Linked DNA regions of Homo sapiens: all the other regions are linked to region 4. Evidence: promoter capture Hi-C in 16 types of primary human blood cells and fetal thymus (Javierre and others, 2016). All regions are on one chromosome and are shown on one strand. Each heading gives the region's core, a stretch centred on a gene start or on the middle of the fragment in contact. The rest is flanking DNA. Distances are from core to core; before and after follow the strand shown. Region 1 has its middle 95 kb from the start of CDCA7. Region 2 overlaps LOC105373744 (a long non-coding RNA gene). Region 3 overlaps CDCA7 (cell division cycle associated 7). Region 4 holds the start of SP9 (Sp9 transcription factor). Region 5 has its middle 5.6 kb from the start of CDCA7.

Evidence for each region. The method cuts DNA at HindIII sites, captures the fragments that hold promoters and counts their contacts. A CHiCAGO score of 5 or more calls a contact.
Region 1: a contact is called between a fragment that was not itself captured here and the fragment with the promoter of SP9 in region 4, in 3 of 17 cell types (neutrophils, total CD4 T cells and monocytes). The highest score is 6.0, in neutrophils.
Region 2: a fragment that was not itself captured here is called in contact with the fragment with the promoter of SP9 in region 4 in 1 of 17 cell types (activated CD4 T cells); the score reaches 5.5 in activated CD4 T cells.
Region 3: a fragment that was not itself captured here is called in contact with the fragment with the promoter of SP9 in region 4 in 3 of 17 cell types (fetal thymus, total B cells and monocytes); the score reaches 7.3 in fetal thymus.
Region 5: a contact is called between a fragment that was not itself captured here and the fragment with the promoter of SP9 in region 4, in 2 of 17 cell types (total B cells and fetal thymus). The highest score is 10.8, in total B cells.

The regions. Positions count from the first base shown.
Region 1 is chr2:173,447,334-173,452,120 of GRCh38, forward strand. No RefSeq gene overlaps it. Among named protein-coding and RNA genes, the nearest start is that of CDCA7, 95 kb to the left of the region's middle. RefSeq lists an enhancer at 3,928-3,997. The HindIII fragment of the contact is 4,778 bases long and covers 1,073-4,787 here.
Region 2 is chr2:173,431,595-173,436,184 of GRCh38, forward strand. LOC105373744 (a long non-coding RNA gene) reads right to left here. Exons shown (of 4, transcript XR_923586.2): 4 at 3,881-4,399. It also overlaps the pseudogene JPT1P1. Among named protein-coding and RNA genes, the nearest start is that of CDCA7, 79 kb to the left of the region's middle. The HindIII fragment of the contact is 3,090 bases long and covers 593-3,682 here.
Region 3 is chr2:173,361,675-173,365,881 of GRCh38, forward strand. It overlaps CDCA7 (cell division cycle associated 7), which reads left to right. Exons shown (of 10, transcript NM_031942.5): 4 at 1,552-1,788; 5 at 2,144-2,221; 6 at 3,121-3,315; 7 at 3,778-3,918. Among named protein-coding and RNA genes, the nearest start is that of CDCA7, 8.9 kb to the left of the region's middle. The HindIII fragment of the contact is 1,295 bases long and covers 2,171-3,465 here.
Region 4 is chr2:174,332,833-174,337,007 of GRCh38, forward strand. SP9 (Sp9 transcription factor) reads left to right here and starts at 2,122. Exons shown (of 2, transcript NM_001145250.2): 1 at 2,122-2,281; 2 at 3,275-4,175. The coding sequence starts at 2,261. LOC102724194 (a long non-coding RNA gene) reads right to left here and starts at 2,144. Exons shown (of 3, transcript XR_427194.5): 1 at 908-2,144; 2 at 725-793; 3 at 162-228. RefSeq lists a silencer at 4,054-4,175. The HindIII fragment of the contact is 13,141 bases long and covers 1-4,175 here.
Region 5 is chr2:173,346,948-173,351,649 of GRCh38, forward strand. No RefSeq gene overlaps it. Among named protein-coding and RNA genes, the nearest start is that of CDCA7, 5.6 kb to the right of the region's middle. The HindIII fragment of the contact is 2,231 bases long and covers 420-2,650 here.

The sequences.
Region 1 (4,787 bases), core at 2,212-4,711, 880 kb before region 4:
TCACCTCCTGGAGACTGCCCACATTCCCCACCACTTGGCTTCCTGCATCTTCAAAATTCACACATGGTGAAGTTGAATCCCCCTTGGGCTCTCAACCTGACTTGATCCTCTTTTGCAACTAGCCAGAGAAAATCCTCTACTTTTAAAGGGCTCATATAATTATGTCAGGCCCGCTGGGATAATCTTCCTATCTTAAGGTCAACTGGCTTGGGACCTTAATTACATTTGCAAAAATCCTTTCATGGCAGTGTTTGATTGAATAACTGGGAGAAGGAGTGTGTACTGCAGGCTGAGTATCTGGAAAGCTATCTTTGAATTTTGCCTACCATGGCTTCCTTCTTACATTAGTGGTACTTCTGCTGAAACAGCAACAAGCCAATTTGCTATTTGTATAGAAATGTCTCTCTAAAAAGCAGAAGGCTGCAATAACATTGCATGATGTATTTTTCAAGATGAATATAGTACTCTTAAAAATCATTGGTCTGGGTGTTGTGGCTAACAACTGTAATCCTAGGACTTTGAGAGGCCAAGGCAGGTGGATCAGTTGAGCCCAAGAGTTTGAGATCAGCCTGCGCAATATGGCAAAACTCCATCTCCGCACACACACAAAAAATTAGCTGGGCATGGTGGCGTGTGGCTGTGGCTGTAGCTCTAGTCCCAGCTACTAGGAAGGCTGAGGTGGGAGGATCACCTGAGCCTGGGAGGTTGATGCTGCCGTGAGCTGTGATCATGCCACTGCACTCTAGCCTGGGTGACAGAGTGAGACCTTGTCTCAAAAATAAAAATAAAAATAAAAAAATCGCCGTACTATTTACAAAAACAGTTCTTAATACTTTTGCATTAAAAGGGTGACTTTAGTGCTCACTTTGGCAGCACATATATTAAAATTGGAATGATACAGAGATCAGCAATTTCAGTTAAATAAGAAAAAAATTTTTTTAAAAGGCTGACTTTAAAACCAGAGTTCAGACATTAAAACCCAAGGTTCAGGGAGCTGAGAGTGGGTGATCCCTGTATAGAGGCCAGTTCTTAGTAGGAATTACATGGCTCTGTGTGGTCCCACTGTCAGGCAAGCTTCACCCAATTTGCTCACTGAAAAGACAAACTAACACGATCATTTTGGTTTTGAATCTGAATTTTGTAGCAACAACATATACTATCAAGACTCAACTTTTGCTAGCACAATAATCTTATTTTATTTTACTTTAAGTTCCGGGACACACGTGCAGAATATGCAGGTTTGCTACACAGGTAAATAGGTAGCACAATAGTCTTAGAAATAGAAACTAAAATAAGTAAATGAAATAAAAGCTCTTTACAAAATATTATGGAAAATATCGCAAATCACAAAGGCCAGAATAAAAACAACCTCTAATTATACTACCCAGAGTTAACCACTGTTAACGTTTTGGCTTTTTGTTTCAGTCTTTTTTTTCCTCTCTTCTACATAAACATGTTTATTAGTCATAGGCCAATCAGGAGACAGAAACCACACAGTAATTTGAACAGGGAAAATTTATTATAAATAATTGTTAACTATAACGTAGGCCTAACTAGGAAGGTGAAAACAATGCTCTAAACAATATCCTAGGGCTGAGGATGAAAATCGGGAGGAACCACTTTGAAGGAGGTCCTTTTCCCCACGACGGATTCAGACAGTGAGGGAAAAGAGATTCTCAGCTCCATTGAATGGTGGAGCTCTCCTGGCTGCCTGAGACAGAACTGGTGCATGGTTGCAGGGAAAAGGGGGAACATATGTCTGCAGGGCAGGTCCTCAGAGACAGCCAGGGCACAAAGAGTCATCTTGTTGGCAGGACAGATAGAGGCCCGGGGTGAGTGGTGTCTCTGTTGGGGGTCACCGGCTGGGGCTCTCTGAGAACTTGCAGAGAAACTGCATGCTCTGGGTGTGTGGCAGGGGCAGAGGCTTCTGGCAGTGGTGCGCTAGGAGCAAGTAGAAAAACAACGGCCGTCCGACGGACGTCCGGGAACCTTGGGCGGGGCTCGTGGGGTAGCTTCTTCCTCCTGCAGTGTCTCTCCTGCGCCCTCTACCGACAAGCTAAACCTCATTCTCGCTGCAAAGGAAAAAATGCTTGAAGGGTCCAGCCTATGAAAGCAAAACAGGTCATGAAAGTAGATTTGGAGGTGAGAGGCAATGTACTACTAAACTGAGATCACAACATGTATCTTATTTTGTAAACTGTTTTATTTACTTCAAAATATACTCAAAACATTTTCTCATATGATGAAAAATATTCTTCTACTATATATATATATATATGTATATTTATTTTTTTCTTTTTCTTTTTTTGAGACGGAGTCTCGCTCTGTCGCCCAGGCTGGAGTGCAGTGGCGGGATCTCGGCTCACTGCAAGCTCCGCCTGCCGGGTTGACGCCATTCTCCTGCCTCAGCCTCCCAAGTAGCTGGGACTACAGGCGTCTGCCACCACGCCCGGCTAATTTTTTTGTATTTTTTAGTAGAGACGGGGTTTCACCGTGTTAGCCAGGATGGTCTCGATCTCCTGATCTCGTGATCCGCCCACCTCGGCCTCCCAAAGTGCTGGGATTGCAGGCGTGAGCCACCGTGCCCGGCCTACAATATAATTTTTAACAGGTGTATGATAATTTATATAATGGATGACCCTAACTTTTTTAGCCAGTATTCAGTTTTGGGCCATTGAGGTTATTTCCACTTTATAGCTATTATAAACAGTGCTGTAACAAATATTCTAGTGGTGAATGCTTGCCATATTTGTATTTCCTTAGGATAAAGTCCTAGCAATGGGATTCCTGGATTGAAGAACATATATACTCTTAATATTTTTATTCATGTTCTGAGATTTCCCCGCCAAAAGACAGCAGTATATTTTAAAGCAACGAGTCTTAGTAACATCTCTACATTTTATTTTTAAAATTTGTACTAATTTTACAAGCATACTAATTAAATGAATTTCATGATGGTAATAAAATAGTCTTGGAGAAAACAATTCTCAAAACAACATTTAATAATGAATTATACCAAAGAATTATTTAAAATGATAATGAAGTGGCTATTAGTACAATACCAAAGAGAGAGAAATGAACAGAACTTACAAATGCAGACACTGATTATTCCAAAATAAATTTTAAACTGTAAACACAGAGCTTATTGTAACAGACCATTTTTTTACAGGAACAGTTAATAGTTTGCTTTAAAATAATTATCTTTTTAAAAAATCGTAGTAATTAGATTTATTCTTAACTCAGAAAAATGCAGTAGAAAAAATACTAGAAAGAAAAACAGAATGAAATGAGAAAGGAAAAGAGGGAAGGAAGGAAGGACAAGAAGACAGGAAGATTTTTCCGAAAGAGGCAGGAAGGAGAGTGTATTGAAGAAAAGAAGAAAAACTAGAAGGAAAGAAAATATGAAAGAGTATATGAATAGAGCAGAAGCAAAAAAAAAAGAAAAAAAAAAGGGAAAAGAAACATTTTAAAGCAAATTCCACCTCCAGAATGGTAATATTTAATGGGCTAACTATCAAAACATTTTTAAGTACTAAGAACACACAACTTAAGAAAGAAAGACATACTTGTAGGAAATAAGCCTTAATTGTCCAATTTGCCAGAGAAGCAGAGATGGCAGTGTTTCTGTGACACTTACGTGGTTGGCTTCTGTCATCATGGAAGTAAGTACAGAAGCACATGCATTTCCACATGGCTACAGAATCCCCAACGCTTCGGTTTGCTATAGGATGCCTCCAAATAAATGGCACAAGTATTTCCACAAAGAAGGTTTGGAGTAGACACATTGAGCATTTCCACCATGGGGTGGTAGAATTTACTTGACGGGTTAGTTATGGCAATGTGGTTTCTCAACAGGCTGCATGGGGGTCTGGCTTGCAAAGGAGCTCGCATATAAAGTGAAAGCTGCTCAGGAGAGCCAGGTCTCCCCACAGGCGTCCTGTGTTCACAGTCCTCGTAAATGTTCTCTGGAGGCCACAGATTCATTATGTCGGAAAAGGTAGAGCAACAGACAGAAAATGCTGGCAGAGGTCCAGCCCTCTGTGGGCTTCGAGTGTGGTATTGCCTAGAGTTTGTTCCTACAGGTATTTTTGCATAAAGACCTCTGTCTGAGGAAGTGAGTCTAAGACAGCAGAGCTCAGGACGGTCTTTTAGAGTATTGGGTGCCCACGACTCTTTTGAAAGAAGTCCATTGATACTCCTCTACTATTTCCCCCGATCTATTTGAGAGCCAGCAAACTGATTTGATAAAACAGTGATAGATTTGTCAGATTAAGATAGTAATTTGCTTCCATTAATTTGAGAGGCATCAGTGTCTCACAGTGAGAAGAAATATGGCCACCCTGGTGGGATACATTTAAATTCATTAAATTTTCTGGCTTTCATCTGAGACACTGAGACTTTTTCTTCTCAGCCCATAAATCCTTTCAGTTTTTACTTCAAATGGCACCAAACAAGCACTCATCAATTTATATTTTAAATTCTCCTAACAATATCCAGTTGGATAAATCTGTTTAATTAGCAGTGGGTTGATGCTTTCTTGGCCCACTCTACGTCCAGTTACCAAAATAAAAGAAAGGCATGGAAAGCTGCTGGTTGCAAAAAAACATGCCTCCTACAATGGCAGGGAACAAGAAGAGACATTCTCCCAACACATGTTAACCCAGGGAAAAAATTTGAATATATACAAAAGATGAAATTAACAATAGATGAATGGCAAATGAGAAAGCTGCCAGTGACCAGACTTTCTCAGGAGCCAACCTTTAACAATATGGATTATTTCGGATAAT
Region 2 (4,590 bases), core at 888-3,387, 900 kb before region 4:
CCACCTCTAGACTTGGCACCTGCCAATGTGGCCCAAGAAGGTGGATTTTCTTCAGGTGTCCCAAAGATACTAGAGGACATTTTGTTCTTTCTCACAGGTTGTTCTGTTGGTTCATCAAAACCCAATGAAAAATTGGATCCACCACCCAGCAGCCGCAAAACCCGGGAGCTATTCCTGCTGTTGGGGTTAACACCCTTGAAGGTAGTGGTGGTGGTCATGGCGCAGAGGAGCAAGTTAGGCTGGCGTGGAAGCAGAATGCTGACAAGGTCGGACCGAGGGGCACAGGGAGGCTCCATACCCCACAGACTGGCCCCCGCTGGGGGAGTCTCCTGCCCACGTTAGCTTTTCAAATGCTATTTGGAATATGTTTATTATGTCTCTTTAAATGTTATTTCGAAATGATACTTATTACTACCTAAGATGTAAATAACTCATCCTAGGTCAAAAACGGCATGGTTAGTGGGCTTCAAACATAATCTCTTCTGTACGGCTTTTTAAATATGGGACACCATGGCTATTCAGTTAGGTCCCTTGCTGGTGAGTCAGGCAGCCAATACCATCAGAAGCTGACCACATACGTGCCCCCCATGGAAGCTTCTGTAGCACAACCATGTGAGGCAAGCCTTGGACACGACGTCCCTGTGCCCAGTTGACTCACAGCTCCACTTATCTCTGCATGAGATCAAAATACAAATGCCAAAATTTCACTTCCCCAATTTTCTATTTTTGCTAATTGCCTCCACCTTGTTCTTTTTCTTTATATCCTATGCATGTTTGACATTTTAAAAAGGTGTTTTTAGCTCTGAATTTAAGCAAACTGGCCCACAGATCTCCCCAGTGAGTAGCAGACTCTGAGTTAATATTCACGGTGTCCTAAATGTTAACACTGCTTGGTTTTGCCTTGTTGCCTTTGCCTTGGCCCCAGCTAGTTTTAAATTGTGTTTACACAATTTTACAGAGTTACTTGCGTTTTTTCTTTAATGAGTCATGATATCTAGTATCAAGTTCAGTTTGGTCGGCTGTTTCACTACTATTCTGTACATAAGACAGTTAAATTATAATGTTAATTTAAAAGACAGAGAATCTATAGTAGGTATATATTTGAACAGGAGAACATTTTTCTGCCAGACCTGAGGACCTTCTGGGCTTTATCTTCTAGAATATCTTCTTTTGTAAAGAAGAGAAAATAAATCTCTGGAACTACTGGGGAACATCTTTCATTCTGGTTTTTTAAAATGTTTGCTTCTTTAATCCCCTGTGATTGAGAAGGCATAGAGGACTGCCAACTGAAGTGGAGGGGACCAATCACAAGGTGTACAGCATGCTTACTTCAAAACGGCTCTGAGAAACAAGGCAACGATTCCTTATCAACACTGACATAATAAAGGCAGTTGGCTCCAAGTATACGTGGGAGTAAAGGACTGTCCTTTATATGTTGATCACTACTATTTGTATTGTCATTCTTGGCTGTGAAGACTATTAATAGACATTTCTGTCAAGATGATATTTTCTTAGAGCCTTTTCTATTTTCTTATTCAACAGAAAAATAGACGAGGGGCTGGGCATGGTGGCTCACGCCTATAATCTCAGCATTTTGGGAGGCCAAGGCGGGTGGATTACCTGAGGTCAGGAGTTTGAGACCAATCTGGCCAACATGGTGAAACCCCATCTCTACTAAAAATACAAAAATTAGCCAGGTGTGGTGGCGGGCGCCTGTAATCCCAGCTACTCTGGAGGCTGAGGCAGGAGAATCACTTGAACCTGGGAGGCGGAGGCAGCAGTGAGCCGAGGTCGTACCGTTGCTCTCCAGCATGGGCAACTAGACCAAAATTCCATCTCAAAAAAAAAAAAAAAAAAGGAAAGAAAAATAGATGAGCAATGTTGGTATATCCCAAATGTTCCCAATTCATCACTCTGGTGTTCATATCACACTCATCTGAGACCCCATGTTGTCTGTCCAGCCTTGTAATTTCCACATCTGTCTCCTGCTTGTTTATTGCCTGATCCAGTTGTCCAGTCCTGGACCACAACCCTGCTCTTCCCCCTGTCGCAGCTGGTGTCCGGCTCTGTCCCTCTTTGTCCTGCTTCCTCCTGAATGTGGTGGACACAGACACTTCCCACAGTCCCCCTGTGGAAGTTGATAACAGGCTGTAATTTTTGAGGGTTTGGGAGTAGCAGAAGTGAATTAAACCCCAGGGACCAGAACTGCAGGCAGGACTGCTCTCAGCATCTGGCTCTCCATCATCACAGGGATACCCACCTGAGTACCATTCTTTCTAGACTGTCAGCAGCCATTCTTCCCCTTACACGTAGCACGGTTATGTTTCCCGCCCTGGGGTCCAGAGCCCATCTCTTACAGATCAGGAGAAATGAAAAGATTCTTCAACCAGATTTGCCTCCTCATTCCCTGCATAAGAATTGCTCTCTTCCCAAGATTATGGTTACTTGAGTTACATTTATTTCTTTTAGCAGAGCCCCATCCCTGGAACCTTCCTCTTTGTCATCTAAAAGATGCTAGAATTCAATGGTTTGATGTCATATATTTCCCAAAGTTTGGGTTAGTTGCTCAGGTTGGAATTTTTTGTCAAAGGGTCAAGGTTGGGATTCGGCAATCCTAGTCTTCCAGTGTGAGGGCACTTCCAGAGAGGACAACAGGGCCTGTCTGGAGTCTGTGTTGTCTAAACCCAGATTTAGTAAGGGAACATTTTTCCTAAGGAAAACCTAATTTGCAGAAGCATAGGTCCCATTAAAAGCCTTACCCAACTGACATTGCTGAAAAAGACACTTAACTTCCCAGTTAGAATTATTTGCATTCTGGTCTTTCCCAGAAAGAGGAGAACATGCTATACATTTGCACATCTCTGAGTGATGGGTCTGGAAGTGGGTACCGGCAGGGCTAGACAAGAGGCTTATCTCCCACTACACTATAGCAATGATTTCCCAAATGCAAGCCAAAAAAGGTTCTGTGACTCAAATTAATATGAAAACTACTGAGATAACAAGATGTTTTTCAACTCAAATAGGCCTAAAGGACTTTATTTTGCTCTGTACATTATATGTCTCTGAGAAGGGGATGATATTATGAGTTTCTTAAACTTTCTGACCATTTAACTCTCTCTCTCCTCCACAGAGAATTACTCTTCTAAAATTCTAGTCAAGATTGGATGGATAAAGACCCATTTGCCTTCCTTGGTTAAGGACACTTAGTTTACAACCCAAAGATAAAAATAATTACCATGACTATACTTAGAATTATATTTCTAGCCTGCCCAAGGGGATAGAGAGAAATCCCAGAAATCCTGTGACCTGGCAGCATTTGCAGCCTGAAACAATCTGTTCTATTCCAGATGGTTTTGCCCTGTGAGCCCATGCAGCATGGCCTACTGCAGCCTCTATGGTCTCTGCTTTCCTTCCTTGTTCTTTCGCTCGCTCCATTCTTTCTCAACTTGAGAGGTTCAGGCAAGATCCCTTAATTTCTGTACATGTCCGTTAGGGGAGTTTTCCCCTCTCTTTCCTATTACTTCAGATGCTGAGAGCAGTCCTGCCTGCAGTTCCAGTCCCTGGGGTTTAATCCACTTCTGCTGCTTCCAAACACTCAAAAGTTACAGCCTGTTCTCAACTTCCACAAGGGGAATGTGGGAAGTGTTCTGCATTTACTGCATTAAAAAATAGGTTCTCCATAAGCTTTTTGAGGGACAACTCTGTCACTATTCAGACTTGAGAAGATTTCAGTTTTTTTTGGTGAGGCAATAGTGTGACGTCTGGTTTCTGGGAATAATTACACAGAGTAATATATTAGTAGTCAATGATTCATTTATGCAAAATATAAAAATACAGACATTGTCATGTTACAAATGTTAATATTTAATACCTCCTTCAGTATTTCTGCAATCATCCATCATTCTTAGTTGATGAATCTTCTATTTTTTCCATAAACTTTCTTTCTTGGTGAAAGGTACTTGTTTTGCCGTATAGCTCAAGTTAATTCTATATCAAGAAGGCATATGCTACCCAAAGTGCTGTTTCTAACTGCAGATGCCTTTCTTTAACCTTTTGGAGATCTGTAGAATGACTTATCTTCAAGAAATGTGAATGCAGAAGTAATGCAAGAGAACCTATCTATGTTAACTGAAAAGTTAGGGTGTAGAGTCCCAGTTTACTCTAATACATGTGCTCTCAAAATGTACACACATGCATACACAAGTGTTTTATTTTAAGATGTGGGAAAACAAGACACCTACCAGAAAAGCTGAATGAGATATATTCATCTTAGGAGGCTACAATGGACAAGACCGAGAGTCAAATGGATAACTCATCAATCAGATTATTGACCTTCTCTGTCACGATGTTGATGAGTTCCATCTACAGCCTTGTTTGGGTTGGGATTAAAGATGAAGAACTGTTGTGGGGAAGAAAGAGACAGAAAGGTTGTAGGACAGTCAGTGAATAGATTTCCCCTAGAGTAAACTCATTGTTCACACAAACATTTTGATCTACTATTATATGGTCAACTTGAAGAAGAATTAATGTTTTTTGTCTTGAATGTACAAAACTAATCTGTAAAGAAAGAGAACAACAAAGACTTTATTG
Region 3 (4,207 bases), core at 1,568-4,067, 970 kb before region 4:
CTCCTGACCTCAGGTGATCTGCCCATCTCAGCCTCCCAAAGAGCTGGGATTACAGATGTGAGCCACCATACCCAGCCTTCTTTTGCTTTTTAGCTCTACTATGAAGTGGTGTCTCACTATGTTTTGTGTTTTTTTTTATTTTTATTTTTCGGAGACGGAGTCTTGCTCTGTAGCCCAGGCTGGAGTGCAGTGGTGTGGTCTCAGTGATCTCTGCTCACTGCAACCTCCGCTTCCTGGGTTCAAGCGATTCTCTTGCCTCAGCCTCCCAAGTAGCTGGGATTACAGGCGTGTGCCACTGTGCCTGGCTAATTTTTGTATTTTTAGTAGAAACGGGATTTCACCATGTTGGCCAGACTGGTGTCAAACTCCTGACGTCAGGTGATCCGCCTGCCCCGGCCTTCCAAAGTGCTGGGATTATAGGCATGAGCTACCGCACCCAGCCTTGCATTGTGATTTTGATTTACATTACCCTATGGCTAATTTGGATAAATTTTTAATGATGAAAACCTATATTACTTTTGGAATCTGGAAATATTTTCATTTTGAACTTCTAAAAGTAGATTAGAGAAGTACCTAGAGAAGTCAAATGTATAGACAGAAAATAGGATGATGGTTGCCAGGGGCGGAGGGAAAGAGGGAATGAGGAATTACTGTTTAATGGGTATGGATGGAGTTTTAGTTGGAGAAGATGAAAACATTCTGGAGATGGATGGTGGTGATGGCTGCACAACAATGTGCATGTATTTAATGCCATTGACTTGTATACTTAGAAATGGTTAAAATGATAAATCTTATGTATATTATATTATATATTTTTTAAAGTAGAGAATTGAGATCTGTTAATATAATTTAATATTGCCATAAACATTGAAGCCATATTTATAGGGGAACACATTTTTTTCCCTTTTTTTTTTTTTCAAGACAGGGTCTGGCTCTGTAACCCAGCCCTGGCATACAGTGGCACGAACACGGCTCACTGAGCCTCTGCCCCCTGGGCTCAAGCCATCCACCCACCTCAGCCTTCCAAGTAGCTGGGACCACAGGCATGCGCCACCATGCCCAGCTAATTTTTGTATTTTTTTTTGCAGAGACGGGGTTTCACCATGTTGCCCAGGCTGGTCTCGAACTCCTAGGCTCAAGTGATTCACCCGCCTCAGCCTCCCAAAGTGCTGGGATTACAGATGTGAGCCACTGCACCCAGCCAGGAGAACACATTTGTTCTTGTCAGAATTCTTTTAAAATACATAAAGATCTGTTTCTAAAGAAATGAAAAGCAGGTGGTAGGAATTTTAACATTTTAAAAAAAGGCTCAGAACCACAGGCCTAGGGACTATGAAAATAGCTTATAACAGTGTGGTCCAGATGGGCTACATGGAATTAAACTGCACTCTGTTGATGTACTCTTTGTGGTTCCTGATTTTGTTACCCAGAGGTATCAATGTTCAGTTAAAATTCATTTCATACAAGTGTCTCATTGAAAAGGGACTTTGTAGTTATACTGATGCAGCTTGTCTGCTGATCAAGTCCTAATGACTCAATTGTTGTGATTAGAGGCTGCAGTCAGTTCGGGAAGGCTGTAGGACCCGCAGCCAGTGCAGGCACTCTGGACCTCTCAGGGTGGCGATGAAGTTTCCAGCGCGGAGTACCAGGGGAGCAACCAACAAAAAAGCAGAGTCCCGCCAGCCCTCAGAGAATTCTGTGACTGATTCCAACTCCGATTCAGAAGATGAAAGTGGAATGAATTTTTTGGAGAAAAGGGCTTTAAATATAAAGCAAAACAAAGCAATGGTAGGTATCTGACTTTGTGTTAGAATTAATTTTTCCTCTCTAAGCGACTCATTACTTAAATCTGTTCCATCACGCAAAAGTTATTTTTTTCTGTTACATGAATAAAAAGTTATTTTTGTTTACCTGTGAAGTCTTCAATGTGTGCCTCAAAATGTGTTTCTTTCCCTGAACTACTTTTTTTAAATCTGTTAAAGGCCTGGTTAAGTGTATAGGGGAAATCAGAAACTCTGAATGTGTCAGCTTACTATCAAATATAAAACCATGAGATGTACTTGAGTATTTTCCAGAAGTTAGTTGCTCATTTTCGACAGTTATTCTAAGCCAATGATATCAGTTTAATTTCCTCCCTTTTTAGCTTGCAAAACTCATGTCTGAATTAGAAAGCTTCCCTGGCTCGTTCCGTGGAAGACATCCCCTCCCAGGCTCCGACTCAGTAAGTACCAGTTCTTGTTTATATACAGTAGTGTTTTGGGCACACCTAAGGTCGATCTGTGTTGTATTTAAAAATCTAATTTCTTTATTTGTGTGGCCTTCTAGACAAACGAAGGGGACCTAGAGGAAACCCCCTGACAGATCTCTGGATGATCCTCCTTGAATCCTGGGCAGTTTGGTCTCTCCTTGCTGTGCTCCTGTGGCACTAAACTCCTTTTGATTGGTTCTTTCTTTCCTTCCCAGCTAGACTAAGCCCCTCATGGGCAGGTAATGAAGATTGAAAACTTTTTTCTGTTCTCCAGTGTGAGCACATTCCTCCTACATGGTAGATGTGCAATAGATGTTTTTAAAATTGGAGAATGAAAATAAAAGAAGAAAATCACAATTTCTTATCAAGTTGTAGCTTGGTATCATACACAATTGCATTCTGAGGAATTAAGGTGGTACAACTTAGGGAGATTTGGTGTGTCTGCTGTGATAGAAAAGATTTCTTTTTCCTGGCTTTCCCTGAGGAAAGGAAAGATGGAAAGAGGGAAGCCATACAGATATCCCTCTATTTTGCAGTGTAGAAACTGAATGTGTTTCTACAGGGTCAAGAGACATCAGAGAAAATTTTTTTTTTTAGAACAGAAGATCATTTCTTACATCTTCATTAAGTAAAAGAATAAATAGCTCATCTCTCAAGTTGAAAGAAACTGGGCTTGGTATTACAAAAGCAAAATTAAGATGGCCATATAGGTTTTAGGCTCATTTTGCCATGCATTATGCAAAGGACAAAGAAAAAGAAAAAATAGAGCTCTCTTTACTTAAAACATCCTTAAGGAGAAGCTATGAATTCCCCAAAGTACTACTTCTCTTTATTATGGAATAAATGGATTCCCTTATACGTGCTTTGTTTAGCAATCAAGGAGACCGCGAAGGCGTACATTCCCGGGTGTTGCTTCCAGGAGAAACCCTGAACGGAGAGCTCGTCCTCTTACCAGGTCAAGGTCCCGGATCCTCGGGTCCCTTGACGCTCTACCCATGGAGGAGGAGGAGGAAGAGGATAAGTACATGTTGGTGAGAAAGAGGAAGACCGTGGATGGCTACATGAATGTGAGTTCTCCGCATTGGTACTTGCTCTTCTGATTCTCATCTTCGGTAGGCCTGGCATCATACACAGCACAGGTACACGCACATCCTTAACACCAGGCGATCCATAGTAAATGTTTTCCTCTAACCATTCAGAACTGTAAACGTCACATAAGCTTACTTGGTAATTTTATTAGCAGGCGAGAATTGGGTTTTCTTCATCTCTTCTTAATTGTAGGCATCGTTTCCAAAATGTCCAGTTAGGCTACAGTAAGCGTATGGCCTGTTCCCCTACCATAAGCTCTAGGAGAGATTTCCAGGTTGAAGTTTGTGTGAAGAAATTACAAGTCAAGTATCTGAGATTCAAAGCTGGGGAGAGCCAGTTTTGAATCTCTGTGTTTCATATTTGAATCTGTTTTTTCAGTTTTGAATCTCTTTCAGTTTTTCAGTTTTGAAGTTCTGTGTTTTGTATTCCTTGTAATGCAGGAAGATGACCTGCCCAGAAGCCGTCGCTCCAGATCATCCGTGACCCTTCCGCATATAATTCGCCCAGTGGAAGAAATTACAGAGGAGGAGTTGGAGAACGTCTGCAGCAATTCTCGAGAGAAGATATATAACCGTTCACTGGTGAGAGCCTCTAAATTACACCTGAGAATGTAAACATCTGTGAGAGGAAGAGAGCTTCTGTCCCTAAGCGTTGCCCAGGTTCTAAAGGGCCTAGCATGTGAAATCTGTACCTATATGTTTTTTTCACACAAGGAAGGAAAAGTTTTACAGTATCCCTGGGATTTAGCCCTCTTTCACAGTGGAATTATCTGCTTAGTAAGTCTGTAGTCATGGTAAATCTTTTCTCCTAATTTAGAAATCAATTCATTCAACATATATTTACTGCATATCTATTATGTGTGTATACATA
Region 4 (4,175 bases), core at 872-3,371:
GCTTTCCGGCTCTTCTAGGCGGCCTGATTTCTCCTCAGCCCTCCACCCAGCGTCCCTCAGGGACTTTTCACACCTCCCCACCCCCATTTCCACTACAGTCTCCCAGGGCACAGCACTTCATTGACAGCCACACGAGCCTTCTCGTTCTCTTCTCCTCTGTTCCTTCTCTTTCTCTTCTCCTCTGTTCCTTCTCTTTCTCTGTCATAATTTCCTTGGTGCTTTCGCCACCTTAAACAAAAAAGAGAAAAAAATAAAATAAAAAAAACCCATTCTGAGCCAAAGTATTTTAAGATGAATCCAAGAAAGCGACCCACATAGCCCTCCCCACCCACGGAGTGCGCCAAGACGCACCCAGGCTCCATCACAGGGCCGAGAGCAGCGCCACTCTGGTCGTACTTTTGGGTCAAGAGATCTTGCAAAAGAGGAGAGAAAACACGGGAGGCACAGTTCCACATCCTTGTCACTTGCACCGGCTCCGCGACAACTCGTCGTTTGCACCCGAGGGTTTGGGGTTGGTAGTTTAATTTTTTTTTTTTCCTAAGAAGCAGGGTGTGGGTTTAGTGGGGAGTGTGCTATATTAAAACCAGTGCCCAGGTCTGCCCGAGGGCGCTGGTATTTCTGGTTCAAAAACAGCTTCTGGCTACCCTGGAGAAGAAAGAGAAAGCGGGGCCCAGAAAGAGAAAAACAAGCAGGTCAGCGGTTGCTGGGGGACTCGAAGACGCACCCTGGTCTGCTTGAGGACGCCTCTTTTCACACTGACAAGGTCCAGGGAGGACTTCAGGATGCTTCCAGCCTGCAAAATGTGGAAGCGCCCACGTGTGGCCTGGTCCTCCGCCCTCCCGGGTGAAAGTCCTGGAGAGATTTCTCGGGCGCGTCCGTGAAAGCAGGGCACTAATGGGGAGCCTACCTCTTAAAACAGCGCACTTGCCCTACGGACGAGCCTCTAGGCCCTGGTGGTCTGGAATGGGAGTGGGTTGGAGCTGGGACAAGAAAACTCCACTCCAGGATGAAACGCGACATGCAAATCTTCACCGGGTTAAACAAACAGCCGAGCAAGCTGCAGCTTCAGCGGAGGTGGAGGTGGGGGCGGACGCCGCTCGCGCCGGTCTCTGTTTCCAAAGTTGTTACAGTGAGAAAATAAGCGGCTTCGTGCAGCGTGTTGTATGGGCTGATGCCTCCCACCCCCATGCCAGCCCACAGCAAAACCCGGCAGATAATCAGCACATCCCACTGTTTAGTCATATTTGACAACTGGGTTAACCTGGTATCTAAGCGCTGGCGAAACCGTACAAAGGGTGCCCTCAATTACCACCAGAAGCCTCTAGCGTGAGTGGCACTTGTATTACCCCCCGGGTCAGAGGCCAGAGCGACAATTAGGAAGTCACTTACACCGCTGGGGGGAAATGGCGGGATGCAGCAGGCTCCAGGCCCTCCCAACAAATCTGTGGATGTAGATCTGTACAGAGAGGCCTATTTCGCTCCTCTCGGAGGAGCTGTCCCTTCGCGCCCCCTCCCCAGTATAACTGTGAGAGTGAAATTGAATCTAGTGGAATAAGGAATTGGGTAGAAGACACACGAAAATGATAAAAATCACAAGCAAGAATGATAGATACAAGCTGAAGTTGTGTTCTGTAGGCAAAAGCCTGGACACACAAAGTGAGGGCTCACATTTCCGTCTCCACTTGGGCCCTGCTGGTGCGGGCTGTGTCTGGGTGTCTCCTCCCCTCCTGCCTCCTTTCCTACAAGTGGGGAGTCGAGTAGGACTGTCAGCCCTAACTTGCAACATCTCGGGGTGGTTTGTGTGTGGGGGGGTGCTTGTGGCTCGGTTTCATTGGTACTTAAACCTGGCTTGGTGCGTGAGTGTAAATTTTTAATTGCACTGTAATTTCTTCAGTCCCCAGCCCGCCCTCGCCCCCCCCCCGCAAGTATCCCCCACTACTCCCCCCCACCCCCGCGGCCCTAGCTAGCTGACTTGACTGGCACGCGCCGGGAGCCCGGGCTCGGGCCCCTCGGAGCGTCTGATTGGCTGCGGGGCAGCTCCGGTCTGCTCTGCCTGCGCCCTCATTGGGCGAGAGGCGCAGCCAGCGGCACTTCAAAGCGGGTGCTCCTCGCACTTAGGCTGAGTTTAGCCGGCGGGAGCCTGGAGTCCGCTCGGCACGAGCGCGGGGACGCGGGAGCCGCGCGGGACCCAAGCAGTTTTTCCGAGCAGCCGCCAGGCTCAGCCCCGCTCCCAGCCTCGCTGCGCAGCCAGAGACCTGCTATGGCCACGTCTATACTCGGGGTAAGTCGCAAGCGCGGCAACGCATTTGCTTGTTTTAACCGGAGTAATTTTTCGTTATGGCTTCTGGGGTCTGCGGCTCCGGAGAAACTGTTGCTGCTAGACTGCAGCTTCAGCTTCTATTAGCACTTTCCACATTTCTGGGACTGATTTTTCCCCAAGTTTTTGGAACCCAGAAAGATGCCTTTGCAAGAAAAGGCCTTCTTAATCAAGTCCTTTTTCATTTGGTTTCAAAAAAAAGCTAGAGGTTTCTTTTCTTCCCCTCGTGATTTATACCCCATCCCCCGCATTGCTTTGGGGATTTTGTTGCAATTATGCGACAATGGTGTTTCCAGAAAACAGTCTTAATCGTTTTGCAGTCCATCTAGTCACGCTAATAAACATTTACATTTCCGCGGCTCCCCAATTCGCCCATGACTTTGAAATCTGTCTCTGGCCGCTTATCCTCGGATTATTGTTTTCATAATCGCTGTTTTTGTGTGTATGTAAACTTTAAAACCAAACGTTTTCTATTAAAAAAGAAAAGTCAAGTCGTAGCCACCCTGGGAGAGCTGCAAGTTTCGCCCGTCCCTGGCAGCTGTTTCGGCCGCCTCCGCCCTCACCCGGTGTTTGTTGTCTCTGGTCTCTGTGTTTACCTTCGCGCTTCACCCCGAAGGGCGACTTGGGGTCTTCTGGGAGATGAGCCGGTTTACGGCGACAACCCAAGTCCGGTTGTAGGCAGGGTTGCAGCGGGGAACACGGAGGCATCTTTGATTTATAGCCTCAGCGAAGTGCAACTTTCCGGCGCCTGGACCTTCGCCCGGGTGATCGCCCCTGCTCCGCGCCCGGTGCGGCGACTCCTCCGCGGGCGCGTGGGGAGGAGGCGCGAGGCGGGGAGCCAGGACCCCCCGGGAGCAGCCGCAGGGGACGAGGCTGCTCACGGGTGCACTTTGTTTCTTCCCCCACTTCCTCTTGCCCTCCTCCTTCTTGCTCCCTCCCCCATCCCACCCACTCTAGGAAGAGCCGCGCTTCGGAACGACCCCGTTGGCCATGCTGGCGGCGACCTGCAACAAGATCGGCAACACGAGCCCGCTGACGACGCTGCCAGAGTCGAGCGCCTTCGCCAAAGGCGGCTTTCACCCCTGGAAGCGCTCCTCGTCCAGCTGCAACCTCGGCTCCAGCCTCTCGGGCTTCGCGGTGGCCACCGGGGGCCGTGGCTCGGGCGGCCTGGCGGGCGGCTCGGGCGCCGCCAACAGCGCCTTCTGCCTGGCCTCCACGTCGCCCACGTCGTCCGCCTTCAGCAGCGACTACGGCGGCCTCTTCTCCAACTCGGCGGCTGCCGCGGCGGCAGCGGCCGGGGTGTCCCCGCAGGAGGCGGGTGGCCAGTCGGCCTTCATTTCCAAGGTGCACACGACGGCAGCCGACGGGCTGTACCCGCGCGTGGGCATGGCGCACCCGTACGAGTCCTGGTACAAGTCGGGCTTCCATTCGACGCTGGCGGCCGGCGAGGTGACCAACGGCGCGGCGTCGTCGTGGTGGGACGTGCACAGCAGCCCGGGCTCGTGGCTGGAAGTGCAGAACCCCGCTGGGGGGCTCCAGAGCTCGCTGCACTCGGGCGCCCCCCAGGCCTCGCTGCACTCGCAGCTGGGCACCTACAACCCCGACTTCAGCTCGCTCACGCACTCCGCCTTCAGCTCCACGGGCCTCGGCTCCTCCGCCGCCGCCGCCTCCCACCTGCTCTCCACCAGCCAGCACCTGCTGGCCCAGGACGGCTTCAAGCCGGTGTTGCCCTCCTATTCGGACTCCAGCGCCGCCGTGGCAGCCGCCGCCGCCAGCGCCATGATATCGGGCGCCGCGGCTGCCGCCGCCGGGGGGAGCTCGGCACGCTCTGCCCGCCGCTACTCGGGCCGCGCCACCT
Region 5 (4,702 bases), core at 285-2,784, 990 kb before region 4:
TTGGTTTACTTCAGAAATTAAACCACCTACAAATGAGCCCTAAGTCTCCATTTAGTTAATAAAGTTCTTCTCTCTGCAGCAATTCTCTTTCCAAAGAGTTGCTTGAAAGGAACAGATCTGAAGAAGACATAAATGATTTATATAATTCACAACTAGGACAATTTAGAATAAGTTGCCTAAGTGATGAACAAAGACATTTAACACCTTTTATGGGTGTTTCCAGAGAAAAAAATGATCAAATTAAAAACAATGAAAAATTCTTACATAAAAACAGACAAAAACTTTGCCAAATGGAAAAAAGAAATTATGGAAAGGTGAACAAGTGACAGGGAAACTGTGGATGGTAAGAAGTAAGCTGAGTTAGGTTTTGGCTGTAATTCAGCTTCCATAGTGTTGGAACTGACTGATTCAGTAATCAAAGCTTGACTTTCCCTTGTGCAAAGTGTTTAATGATGTTTTAACACTAGCAGTTAATATATTTCACAATAGACAATGTTCATCCACGGAAAAACAAATATTTCTTCTTGCCAAAAAAAGGTCAGATTTGCACTCATTTTTCCATATTCCTTTTTCTAATCAGGTGTCAGATGTCAGCAAACTGATCTACTTAAAACAGTGTTGACATACAATGCAAAACAAACATACCAATATGGCTTGGAGAGCCAGCATTTGTGAACCAAACAGCCAGGGTGATAATGGGCTGGGCCCTCCAACAGAGCAGCTTTTGACAATTGAAGCCTAACGTTAGGCCTTTTAGCTATATTGCCTTTATGCATCCTGAAAGCAGGCACTGGAGACGTAAATCTGTAATTAGGGGTTATTTAAAACAGAGATTTGTGACCTGACAGACTGCAAACTGTCTATATCCACAAACACAGTGAAATTGCTCCAGCCCTTTGTCTCCAGGGGTATCTGGTCTATTGAAGGTCTCTGGTTTACAGGGGCGCTTGGGTTCATGTTATACCGCCTGAGAGATGGGTGCATGGGACCGAGAGCAGCACATGAAACATTAGCATTGTTTCTAAATCTCATCTAAAAATGATACATGCTATTAGCGGTTGCATTCTTTGTCCGAAAACCAGTCATTCTGAGTTGAAGTTTAACTTACCTCATTATGTAAGTGCTCTGAACCTCACAGTCAAGTTTCAAACTTAATAATAGGAAATGGAATTCTTTGTGCAAGGTGAATAAAAGGTATAGAGAAACACAGAATTCTTAGGGTTTGTAGTAGCCCAGGGAATTCAAAGCTCTTTAACAAGAGATTGATATTTTAGAATATTTTGAAGATTTAAAATTCCAGGGCTGGGGATGGTGGCTCATGCTTGTAATCCCAGCACTTTGAGGGGCCAGGGCAGGCGGATTGCTTGAGCCCAGGAGTTCGAGACCAGTCTGAGCAACATGACGAAACCCCCATCTCTACAAAAAATAGAAAAATTAGCCAGATGTGGTGGCCTACATCTGTGGCCCCAGCTACTTGGGAGGCTGATGTAGGTGGATTGCTGGAGCGCAGGAAGTTGAGGCTGCAGTGAGCCATGGCTTGAGCACTGCACTCCAGCCTGAGTGAGAGTGAGACCCTGTCTCAAAAAAGAAAAAATGTAAAAATAAAATAAAATTCCACCTACAACCACTTTAGTTGGAAAAATAGCTAATGCATGCAGGACTTAATACTTAGGTGATGGGTTGCTAGGTGCAGCAAACCACCCATGGCACAGATTTTCCTGTGTAACAAACCTGCACATCACATCCTGCACATTTACCCTGGAACTTAAAAAATAATTAAATTAAATTATACAAATAATACTTATAAATATAATAAGTATTTACTGAGTACCTGTTGTATTAACAGCCCTCATATCAAGTAGTGTCTGTGTAAGTATGTACTTATAAAATGTCATTTCCTTTTACCTTTTGCTGTGGCCTGTGCCATCATCTTTCCCTGGACACTGATTTTCCATGCTTATTCATTTTGTGTCTTTCATTTAAAATGAAAATATTTACCAGTGTGTGATTAATACAGTGACTTAAAACCTTTATGAGGCATCTAAAATTGCATGACAAACTTGCATTCCTATTTATAGGACCCTGTAAAGGAACTGTATATTTAACACAATAAATATATTGATATTGATTGTCAGAACAAACTCTCCAAAACTTAAATATTTTAAAATTATTAAATGTTTCAGATTAAAAAAAAAAAAGAAAAAAAAAAGCACAGAAAGTAAACATGTAAAAGACACCCATGTACTAATCACTGGCATTTGTCACATTTAACAATTTGCCATATTTGCTTCCCATGGTTTTTATTTTTCAAGAAAGCATTGTTAAAGCACTGACCTTAGACAAATTAAATTTAGCAGTTTAATGGAGCAAAGAATGTTTGCAAATCGGGGATCCCCTGAACCAGAGTAGGTTCAGAGAGGCTCCAGAGCAGCTGCATGGTGGAAAAAGATTTATGGACAGAAAAAGTGAGGTACAGAAAACAGAAGTGAATTACACCAACAGCTGGATTGGTTACAGCTCAGGGTTTGCCTTATTTGAACACAGCTTGAACAGTTGGTCACCCTTGACTGGCCAAAACATGGTGGTTGGTACAAGAGTAAGTTAGTCTGTTTATATACCCAGTTGGGTTACAGTTCATTGTGTATGGAGAAGCTTTAGGCTGAACTTAAAATATGTAAGGAGGCGGCTTTAGGCTAAACTTAATTTAACAGCATTAATGATAGCTGGGTGCAGTTATGTACACCCATAGTCCCAGCTATGTGGGAGGCTGAAGTGGGAGGATCACTTGAGGCCAGAAGTTGGAGGCTGTAATGTGCTATGATCACACCACTGCACTCCAGCCTGGGCAACATAGCAAGACCCAGCCTTTTTTTAAAAAAAAAAAAAGAAAAAGAAAAGAAGAAAGCATTAATAATAGAATCAAAGGACCCACCCTTGCCTCTTTCCTCCATCTTTTCCACCTTAAGTTAATTTCTGTGCTATTCTGCTTGTCTAGGTTTTTATACTCTCCCAACTTAGGTATGTTTTGTGTTTCTAAAATTTGCATAAAGGGTACACTTTACAGACACTTTTACTATTTGCTTTTTCATTGAACACTGTTAAGATTTCTCTACAATGATGCCAGTAAGCTATGCCATTAATTTGAACTACTGTTCAGATTCCATTGTACAAATACACCACTGTTCATGTATCCATTTCCCTTCTGAGGGGCATGTTGACTGCAGTATTTTACTATGATACATAATGCTAATATGAATGAACCATCCATCCCTCAAGTCCAGTTAGCTCTAACTTTTATAATAATCATATATCTTAAATCTGACTTCATCTGACCCCACAACTATCCCAGTCCAAGCCATCATTTGCTTCTCCAGGAGCCCATAGGTCTCCCAGCTTTCACTCTTGGCTCTCCTTCAGTTTACGACCCACACAGTTCATGGGGTCGGATTGGGTCTTTCTTTTTCTCAGAATCCTTCAATGACTTCCCATCATATCTGGAATAAATCCAAAGTTCTTCCCATGGCCAAGAAGGTCCCACATGATCTGGGCTCTCTCCCTCTTTGCCTGGCTTTCTGTAGTGTGCCTTGCTGTGCACTGCCTTACAGCCTTTGGGCCAGCTGTGTACTGTGCCTGAAACCAGCACTTTCCTCTTCTTCCTGTAGCTTCCTTCCTGACTTTGTTCATGTTCCTCCTCAGGTGTCACCTTCTCAGAGAAGCCTTTTCTGTTTCTCTTATTTAAATTTGTACCTCTTTCATTTTCTCTCCCCTTGTCCTGTCTTTAGCTTTCACCTTGCTTTTATTTTTCTTCACGGAAGTTAGCACACCTGAAACTATTTTTTTGTTGTTGTTTACTTCTGCTCTCCTACTAGAATGTAAACTCCTGGAATCACAAATTTCTCAATAGTATGTAGAATGATGAATCCGTTTCAGAAGGTTTTCAATGGACTCTGTTCAGATCCATCAGAGGAATCACTATCTATGGCAGCTACAGACTTATGAAATGTATTTCTTTTTTTTTTTTTTTTTTTGAGACGGAGTCTCACTCTGTTGCCCAGGCTGCAGTGCAGTGGTGCAATCTTGGCTTGCTGCGAGCTCTGCCTTCTGGGTTCACGCCATTCTCCTGCCTCAGCCTCCCGAGTAGCTGGGACTACAGGCGCCCACCACCACACCCTGCTAATTTTTTGTATTTTTAGTGGAGACAAGGTTTCACCATATTAGCCAGGATGCCCATGTCCTCAGGCATTATTTACTTGCTCCATCTCCTGACCTCATGATCTGCCCATCTCAGCCTACCAAAGTGTTGGGATTACAGGCATGAGCCACCGTGCCCAGCCATGAAATGTATTTCTTAAATAATAAGACTTTAAAGTCAAAATTACTCCCTGGTCCACGGACTGCAGAATGGATGCTGTGTTACCAGGCATGAAAACATTCATCAATCTCCATTAGAGCTCTTGGGTGAATAGGGGCACTGTCAATGAGCAGTAATATTTTGAAAAGAATCTTTTCTTCCGAGCAGGTCTCAAGAGTGGGCTTAAAATATTCAGCAAACTACGCTGTAAACAGATGTGCTCTCATTCAGGCTTTGTTGTTCTGTTTATAGAACACAGGCAGAATAGGTGTCGCATAATTCTTAAGGAATTAAGAACGTGGAATGGTAAATGATCAATGGCTTCAATTTAAGGTTACCAGCTGCATTCAT